2 separate regions of the Homo sapiens genome follow, and region 1 is linked to region 2. Evidence: promoter capture Hi-C in human tissues and cell types (Jung and others, 2019). All regions are on one chromosome and are shown on one strand. Each heading gives the region's core, a stretch centred on a gene start or on the middle of the fragment in contact. The rest is flanking DNA. Distances are from core to core; before and after follow the strand shown. Region 1 overlaps LOC101926935 (a long non-coding RNA gene). Region 2 holds the start of ZNF337 (zinc finger protein 337).

The links. Contacts are between HindIII fragments. The study calls those that stand out against the background at their distance.
Region 1: a fragment that was not itself captured here is called in contact with the fragment with the promoter of ZNF337 in region 2 in 2 of the 25 tissues and cell types used here (H1 embryonic stem cells and dorsolateral prefrontal cortex).

What each region holds. Positions count from the first base shown.
Region 1 is chr20:25,848,221-25,852,624 of GRCh38, reverse strand. LOC101926935 (a long non-coding RNA gene) reads left to right here. Exons shown (of 3, transcript NR_110001.1): 1 at 1-527; 2 at 1,313-1,388; 3 at 3,677-4,404. Among named protein-coding and RNA genes, the nearest start is that of FAM182B, 54 kb to the right of the region's middle. RefSeq lists enhancers at 2,163-2,687, 4,149-4,404. The HindIII fragment of the contact is 3,050 bases long and covers 1,547-4,404 here.
Region 2 is chr20:25,694,974-25,699,090 of GRCh38, reverse strand. It overlaps ZNF337 (zinc finger protein 337), which reads left to right and starts at 2,238. Exons shown (of 5, transcript NM_015655.4): 1 at 2,238-2,332. LOC107985400 (a long non-coding RNA gene) reads right to left here and starts at 2,050. Exons shown (of 2, transcript XR_007067557.1): 1 at 1,928-2,050. RefSeq lists an enhancer at 2,725-2,834. The HindIII fragment of the contact is 16,641 bases long and covers 1-4,117 here.

The DNA.
Region 1 (4,404 bases), core at 1,822-4,321, 150 kb before region 2:
ATGACGCAACTTGCCTGCCAGCCCATCTGACTGTTACAAATTTAATAGTAATTTTAATTTATCATCTCATGTAAAGGTCCTTGGCAGTGATACCTAATTTCCTAAGATAGCCTTGCTTTATATTGTGTGATTAAGATGTCATGCATATCAGAGTATCTGGAAATTCTTCCCAACGTCCTTTACATACGTGATTAATCACATTTCCAAAATAACATACCAAAACGAATAACAGAAAATCATTTTAAGTTGTGGTTCCTTCATGCACAAAACATTTCATGTGTGTCTGGCCCTCTTCCGGCCACAGATTTCATCTTAACCTAAGTATTGAAATGCTTGTGCCCTTTGATTAATTTTTCTGTGTAAATACTTTGATAATAAGCTACATTGAGGCCGGGTGCAGTGGCTCACACCTCTCATCCCAGTTCTTTGGGAGGCTGAGGCCAGCGGATCACGAAGTCAGGAGATCAAGACCATCCTGGCCAACACAGTGAAACCCTGTCTCTTCAAATATACAAAGAATTAGCCAGGTAAGGCCAGGCTCTGGCTCATGCCTGTAATTCCACACTTTGGGAGGCTGAGGAGGGTGGATCACCTAAGGTCAGGAGTTTGAGACCAGTCTGCCCAACACGGTGAAACTCTGTTTCTACTAAAAATACAAAAAATTAGCTGGGTGTGGTGTCAGGTGACTGTAATCCCAGCTACTCGGGAGGTTGAGGCAGAAGAATCACTTGAACCCAGGAGGCGGAGGTTGCATTGAGCTGAGATCATGCCACTGCACCATCTGGCCTGGGGGACAAGAGTGAAACTCTGTCAAAAAAAAAAAAAAAACTGGTCTATACTGAAAATACAAAAATTAGACCCTGAAGGTCACGTCCAAATGAGAAAGACATTGTTTGGCTCAAATTGTCTGACACTAAGGAATAGTGCAGACTGGACAAGTGAGGTGGCTGACACCTGTAATCCCAGTACTTTCGGAGGCCGAGGCTGGTAGATCACCTGAGGTCAAGAGTTGGAGACCAGCCTGACCAACATCATGAAACTCCATCTCTACTAAAAAAAAGTACATGAAAATTAGCTGGCTATGATGGTGCATGCCTGTAAATCCCAGCTACTCAGGAGTCTGAGGCAGGAGACTTACTTGAAACTGGGTGGCGGAGGTTGTGGGGAGTGGAGATCACACCACTGCACTCCAGCCTGGGCAACAAGAGTGAAACTCTGTCTCAGAAAACAGAATAGTGCAGAGTAAGAGCAGATTTATATATGTATGTATGTATGTATGTATGTATGTATGTATGTATGTATGTATTTTCAGAGAAGCAGGGAATCTGGAATTTTGGGTGAAATGTCTGTTTCCAGAAGCTGAAAATGCTCTCAAATGGAAAATTCAGGTTAGCCTATATCAAGCTTCTCCTTGTTCTATGTGTGAAGACCATGGGACAGAGGGAGCAGCTTGAGCCAAGTCAGGATGGTAGGATGGGACAGGTGGCCAGGGCTGCTGCACTGGGGACCCTGGTGGAGGATTTCGCTGGAAACGCAGGTGGGACCAGACCATGAAGAGTCTCAAACACAGACTTGAGGACTCTGACCTTTATCCTGGGGGCAGCAAGAAGCCATGTTAGGTGAAGGAACAAGGCTGTTTCTCCCTCAGCACTAGTGCAAGGAAAGGCCAGGGAGGCCCTCAGTGGAAGCTTGCTGCTGGATTTGTTGATGTGCCTTTTCTCCTGCCTGCACTGGGGTCAGAATGGCCTTGGGTACTGCACACTTCCTACCAGGAATAGAAGGCCCCACAGCTATAGCACCTCTCTTCCTTTTAGTTCTTTGGAAGGATGAGCAAATTATTCACCCTCTCTGAGCCTCAGTTTTCTCATCCATAAAATGATGACAGTTCACCAACCTGGCAGGTCACAAGGATGTTATGAAATCAGGTGAGCACAGCATAGCAGGTGTATTTTTGGGTCCTATTATTACATGTGAACTAAATTGCCTTGTAGAAAAGGCACAGGCTCAGGGGACCTGTGTTTCAATCCCACTATGCCCCTGTAATGCCCACCTCTCAGGGATGATGGAAAGATTAAGTTCACGGAGATGATGCTTGTGCAGCATCTGATACCCAGCAGATACCTAAGAACCTAACCTACCACCCACCTGAGCAAGCACAACAGTCCTGCTCCTCCTGCAAGCACTGGGGATGCTGCCTCCCACCCGCCTTAGAACACTGCTCCTCCTCCCTCTCTGCAGGGGGCATTTTGTAGGCCTCAGTCGCTGGGCTTGCTGTCCTCTCACCTGCCTCTCAGCACGGGGCTCAGAGCACACATTCTTCACCTTTGCAAGAAGCTTCTCTACGCATCCTTGCCCCTAGGCTTGCTGAGTGCATTCACCTGTTGTCTTATTTATAATCAGGACAGAGTTGCTCCCTACTGTGTAGATGAGGAAATGGAGACCTAGAAAGGGAAGGAAAGACCAACACTTTGAGCACCTGCAATGTGCCTGAGGCAATGTACGCATTAGCTCTGCTTCACAGCAGCCCAAGAGGGAGGTATTATTCTTCCCCTGTGTAAATGTGGGTGTTGAGGCTCAGAGAAGGGCAGTGACTTGTCCAAGGTCACATAGCAAGCAACCGTCAGTGGCTGAGGGCTAACCCAGGTCTTTCTGACTTCAGAGTGTGGGATTTAGAACAAACATTTGCAACGTGAGATTGACAGATCCATCCCCCAGTGCCATTCCAAAGACCAGATGGGGTCATAAGTGTGTGAGTACCTGACATGGTGCCCAAGGACTGGGAGTAGAAGCAGAATCCCATCCACCTCCACCTAATCATACAGAGAAAGGAGACAGGAGCTGAGGGAGGGCAGTGCTATGTCCAAGCTCTCAGCAAGCAGTAGGCAGAGCCCAGGCCCCTGCTTTCCCATGCCCACCCCTTCCCAGTTCAGGGCAAGGCCACCTCTCCAGGGCCTTTCCCTCCCCTAGAGAGGAAACTCCCCAAGTTCCTCTGACCAGACAGGAGAGTGAACGAGAGAAGAAAATTCCACTTCAGCACACACACCTGGAGCCTGAGGCTGAAAGCTGGAATCCCAGACTTTGACACTCAAGAAGGCATCTCCACACTTTTTCAGCACCTCCACCTGGGACATTCATGAGCACCTGGCTTCCCTCCCAGGGGAGAGGGGTGTCCCAGAGACACTGGGGCCCTTAGAAGGCACTATGAGTTGGCAGTGACTGCAGCAGCGTGGTGGGATTGTGGGTGGTGTAGGAAGCAGGGGAAGCAGATCACAGCACTCAGGATGGCCAGAGCTGAAGGCATCAGAGTCCCCTGTCCTTGTTCTGCAAAAAAAAAAAAAAAAAAAAAACCCACGGCATATTCCCTTCCCACTCCACACCTCCCACGGTCAGCAGTAGGCCCCAGAGGAGGAGAAGCGAGGCCTCAGGAGGACAGCAGCCACTGCTGGCAAGACGTTGGTGTTCTCCTGTTGAACTGCACAGGTTGTCAGCATCAGACAAGGTCGCTCTGTGACCATGATGGGTCAAGACAAAGCAAGGTCACTTGGTAGCTATCATGGCTCAGCTCATGCAAAACATGGACAAAAATGACCTCACACCCCCTCCCCTGTGTCTATGTCATGACCACTACCTCTGTCAATTGCAGCGTTAGCTTTGGTCTTGTCTTCCTTCCTTCTAGGTAAGATTGGGGAAGATGCCAGGTGATAGAATCCACCCTGCCTCTGACAGCATCCAATCTGGAGCAAAGGCTTCTTTCAACCTTCCCCCAAGCTCCCAATACAAGCCCAAATTCTGGAACAAGTCCTTTCCAACACCTCCTTCAGAGAAGCTCCCTGGCTCCAGGCAGTGCTTGCTCCCCTCACTGCAGCAGGAAGCCTAACTTGCGAACTGCAGGTGTGCTCCAGGTGGTCACTGGATGCAAGGTATTGACAGATGGATCCCATTGATACCCCCACTGCATAACCATGTAAGCCTATCATCCCCCACTTGCACATGAGGAAACGGAGGTCCACAGGGTGGGGAAGGGAAGACATAATTTGTCCTTCAAATGCGATACCGGTGAGATGTGAGAGGCAGCATCCCTCATAACTCAGCAAGGCAGTGGGCACACTAGGACCCTCCCAGGCAGATCGGGTGCGTGGTCGCCCCCATTGCATAGCATGGGTGGGAGTTGGGGAGACCAGACATGGGTCTCACCACCTCTGCACTGGCCCGACCTCTCTGCAGGCCCCCAGGACAGGGTTAGCATCTGCTTGCTGGCAGGCCTGGCCACCAGAAGTATTTGCTTATGTCTAAGGTCCCTGTAGTTGTGGTTCACAGGATTGGGGCTGCTCCTGAGATTCAGCACCACACAGGCACTGCATGGAACTGTGCTATGGTGGTGGGCACTCGCTTTCCAGATAGGGC
Region 2 (4,117 bases), core at 989-3,488:
GCAAAGAACTTACATTGGGGAAAGACAGTCATTTCAATAAATGGCACTGCAAAAACTGGATATCCATTTGCAGAAGAATGAAATCTAAAGCAATCCCCTCACCACATATAAAAATCAAATCAAAATGGATTAAAGGTAAATCTAAGACCTGAAACTATAAAACTACTAGAAAAAAACATTGGGGAAACACTCCAGGACATTGGTGTGGACAAAGATTTCTTGAGTAAGACTGCAAAAGCACAAGCACCTAAAGCAAAAGTGGACAAATGAGACCACATCACATAAAAATCTTCTGCAAGCAAAGGAAACAATCAACAAAGTGAAGTGACAATCCACAGAATGGGAGAAAAAATTTGCAAACTATCCATCTGAAAAGAAAGTAATTGCCAGAATATATATAAGGAGCTAAAACAACTCAATAGGAAAAAGACAATCTGATATTTTAAATGGAGAAAAGATCTGAATAGGCATCTCTCAAAATAAGATATATGAACGGCCAACAAGTGTATGAAAAAAAATGCTCAATGCCACTAATCATCAGAGAAATGTAAATCAAAACCGCAATGAGATATAATGTCACCCCAGTCAAGATAGCTTTTATTCAAGAGACAGGCAATAGTGAATACTGGTGAGGGTGTGGATACACCCTCATACACTGTTGTTAGGAATGTAAATTAGTACAACCACTATGGAGAGCAGTATGGAGGTTCCTCAAAAGAATTAATAAATATATACATGATCCCGCAATCCCACTGCTGAGTATATATCCAAAAGAAAGGAAATCAGTATTTCAAGGATATATCTGCACTCTCATGTTTACTACAGCACTATCCAAAATAGTAAAGATATAGAATCAAAGTGTCTATCAACAGATGAATGGATAAGGAAAGTGTGGTACATTAACACAATGGGATATTAGCCAGTCATTAAAAGAATGAAATTCTGTCATTTTCAATAGCATGTATGAAAATGGAGGACATTATGTTAAGCGAAATGAGGCACAGCATGACAAATATCACATGTGCTCACTCATTTGTGGGGCTAAAAACGTGAACTCATGGAGATGGAGAGTAGAATGAGATAGTTAACAGAGGCTGGGAAGGATGGTGGGTAGAGGAGATAAAGAGGGACTTGTTAATCGATACAAAAATACAGTTAGAATGAATAAGATCTAGTAGTTGGTAGCACTATACAGTGACTATAGTTAAGAACAATTTTACTATATATTTAAAAATAAGAGAGAATTGGAAACTTCCTAAAACAAAGAAATGCTAAATGCTTGAGGGGATGGATACCCCAATCACCCTCATTTGACCATTAAACACTGTATGCCTGTATCAAAACATAACATGTACCCTATAAATATGTACAACTAATATTTATCCAGAATAATTAAAAATTTAAAAACCAAAAGAGAAAAAGCAAACAGCAAGTATACCTAGTAAAGGCCTGAAATATAAAGTCTACGTGGTTTGGCAAGCCACAAAAGATATCAGCATATTATACACCCTACATAATGAAAGAATTCTGGCATTGATGCATAATTAGATAAATGGGGGAACAATTAGAAATTGAAATGCAAATGTAAATTGAGTATACTGAATTATGTAGCTGAAACCTTAAATTATTTGGTAAAAGACTATATTTTTAATAAATTTAATGGGAAATTAATAAAATATTAGAAAATTTTAAAAATAATTGTATATTTACAGTGTGTACCTGGAGAAAAATTAAACCATTGAGAGATCTAAATGTGAATGATAAAACCACAAAATCCGTAGGAAAATCAGAGATCAAAAGTACTACATAGCAAAAAAAAGAAACAAAAGAAAAAAAAAAGACATACCCATAATCAAAAGACAGTGGGAAAATTATTTACCTATATCATAGAAATGGGAAAATATGCTTAATGTATGTATAGGGCTACCTAAATAAAAGAAATCGCCGGTTCTGAAAGGATCCCTCCACGTCCAAACGACCATAGGCTCGCCCCACCTGTCAGAGAGGAGTCCTTCCGAGAAGTCCTTCCAAGGATTCCGGGTCGCGCAGTCCCGGGTGGACCGCTATGACCAATATTCTGGGGCGTGTACCTGGACGACTCCCGAGGACTCTGGGGAGTGTAGTCCACCGAGGGGATGCGACGCGCAGGGTCGCATAGCCTCCGGGCCGCGCCGAGGATGCTGGGTAGCGTAGTCCCGGCCGCGCTGAGGATTCTGGGTAGTGTAGTCCCGGGCGGCGCAGAGCGTTCCAGATCCCTGGGCGTCAGCGAGCCGTGAGATGCGTGGTCCACCATCGGTGACCTCACCGCCTCGGTTCGCCCTCAGCCGCCCCGGTGAGCTGCGCTCCTGCGGGTCCCTCTCTGCAGCGCGCCCTTCCGGCGCAGGAAGAAGGGCCGGGAAGGCCTGGGACGTGAGGGCGCTGCTGGGGCCGTAGCGCGCGCTCCTCCAGGCCCGGCGTCTCCGCGTTCTGGGGAGGGGCGGAGACCCAGGCCGCGCCTTGAAGTGGGCGGTGGGGCTGCGGCTTGCCGAGCGCCCCGGGTCTGGGCCGCCACTCAGTCTCCGTTCCCGGTTGCGTGTAGTGGCGGCTCGGGCGGTGAACAGCCCGGATTTCACAGGGGCGCCGAGCAACCCAGGTCCTCTTGTGCCAGGGTCGCCGCTCCTCGGGTGGGGACGGGCCAGCGGCCTAGCGAGCTGCCACGGGGGTCTTTTGGCCGGAGGTGGAGGGGGACTCGGCCACAGCCAGGGTCCACTGGTGGGGTGGGGGTTACAGCCATGAGACGGATGGGCTAGGTCCGACTCGGGTTCCCTCCGACTCTGATGCTCCAGACTTTATTGTGGGAGGCGGGACAGGGGAGGACTTCGCCCGCGTGTTTTGGGGAAGGGCCGCTGCTTTGGGTTGGGAGCACCCCGCCTTGGGACGATCTTCCGCGGATAGGAGTGTAGGCCGGGACCAAATGTCCTCGCACGGGCACGTCTAGACGTGTTTTGGTGGGGGGGGGGGGGGATCTGCGTGGGGCAGCGTCCGCGGGAGGTGAGGTGGCTGTGGGGACCCAGGTGGCCTCTTCCCTGGGGCCTTGCTAATGACGGCAAAATCCGGGTTCTGCCAAAATATATTTAAAAAGGTTTATTCCTAGTCAGTATGAGTGACTGTGGCCCAGGTTATTCAGCCTCAAGAGGTCCTGTGAAAGTGCCCGAGATGGTCAGGCTTGCAGGTTAATTTTATACAATTCAGGGAGACAGGAATTTCAGGTAAAGTCATAAATCAGGCTGAGCAGTGTGGCTCATGCCTGTAGTCCCAGCACTTTGGGAGGCCAGGAGTTCCAGAGCAGCCTGGGCAGCACAGCAAGACCCTGTCTCTACATGAAATTAGAAAAATAAAAAAATTAGCGGGGCGTGGTGTCCCATGCCTGTGGCCTCAGCTACTTGGGAGGCCCAGTCAGTTGAGTCCAGGAGGTGGAGGCTGTAACCAGCTATGTTGGCTGCACTGCACGCTAGCCTGGGTAACACAGCGAGATCCTGCCTCCAAAAAGAAAATCATAAATCAATAAGAGAAAGATATACACGGGTTCCTCCCAAAAAGCTGGTATATCTCCAAAGGGTTTACACCTCATGGGGGCACTTAGGGATTCTTTAGTGGACAGTTGGTTGAGAGACTTAAGCTACTGCCTGAAGACTGGAATCAGAAGCATGCCAGAGTTAAGGGGATTGCGTAGATCAAAGTTCTTATTATGTAGATGAAGCCTCTTAGTTGGCAACTCTCAGAATAGATGGTAAATGTCTGTTTTCAGTTTTTTGGGTTTTTGTGTTTTTGTTTTTGTTTTTAGAGAGAGTCTTGCTCTGTCGCCCAGGCTAGAGTGCAGTGGCGTGATCTCAGCTCACTGCAACCTCCACCTCCCAGGTTTGAGCAGTTCTCCTGCCTCAGCCTCCTGAGTAGCTGGGACTACAGGCGCCCGCCACCACGCCTGGCTAATTTTTGTATTTTTAGTAGAGATGGGGTTTCACCATGTTGCTGAGGCTGGTCTTGACTTCCTGACCTCAGGTGATCCACCCACCTCTACCTCCCAAAGTGCTGGGATTACAGGCGTGAGCCACCGCGCGTCAGGCTGGCTGTCTCTTCC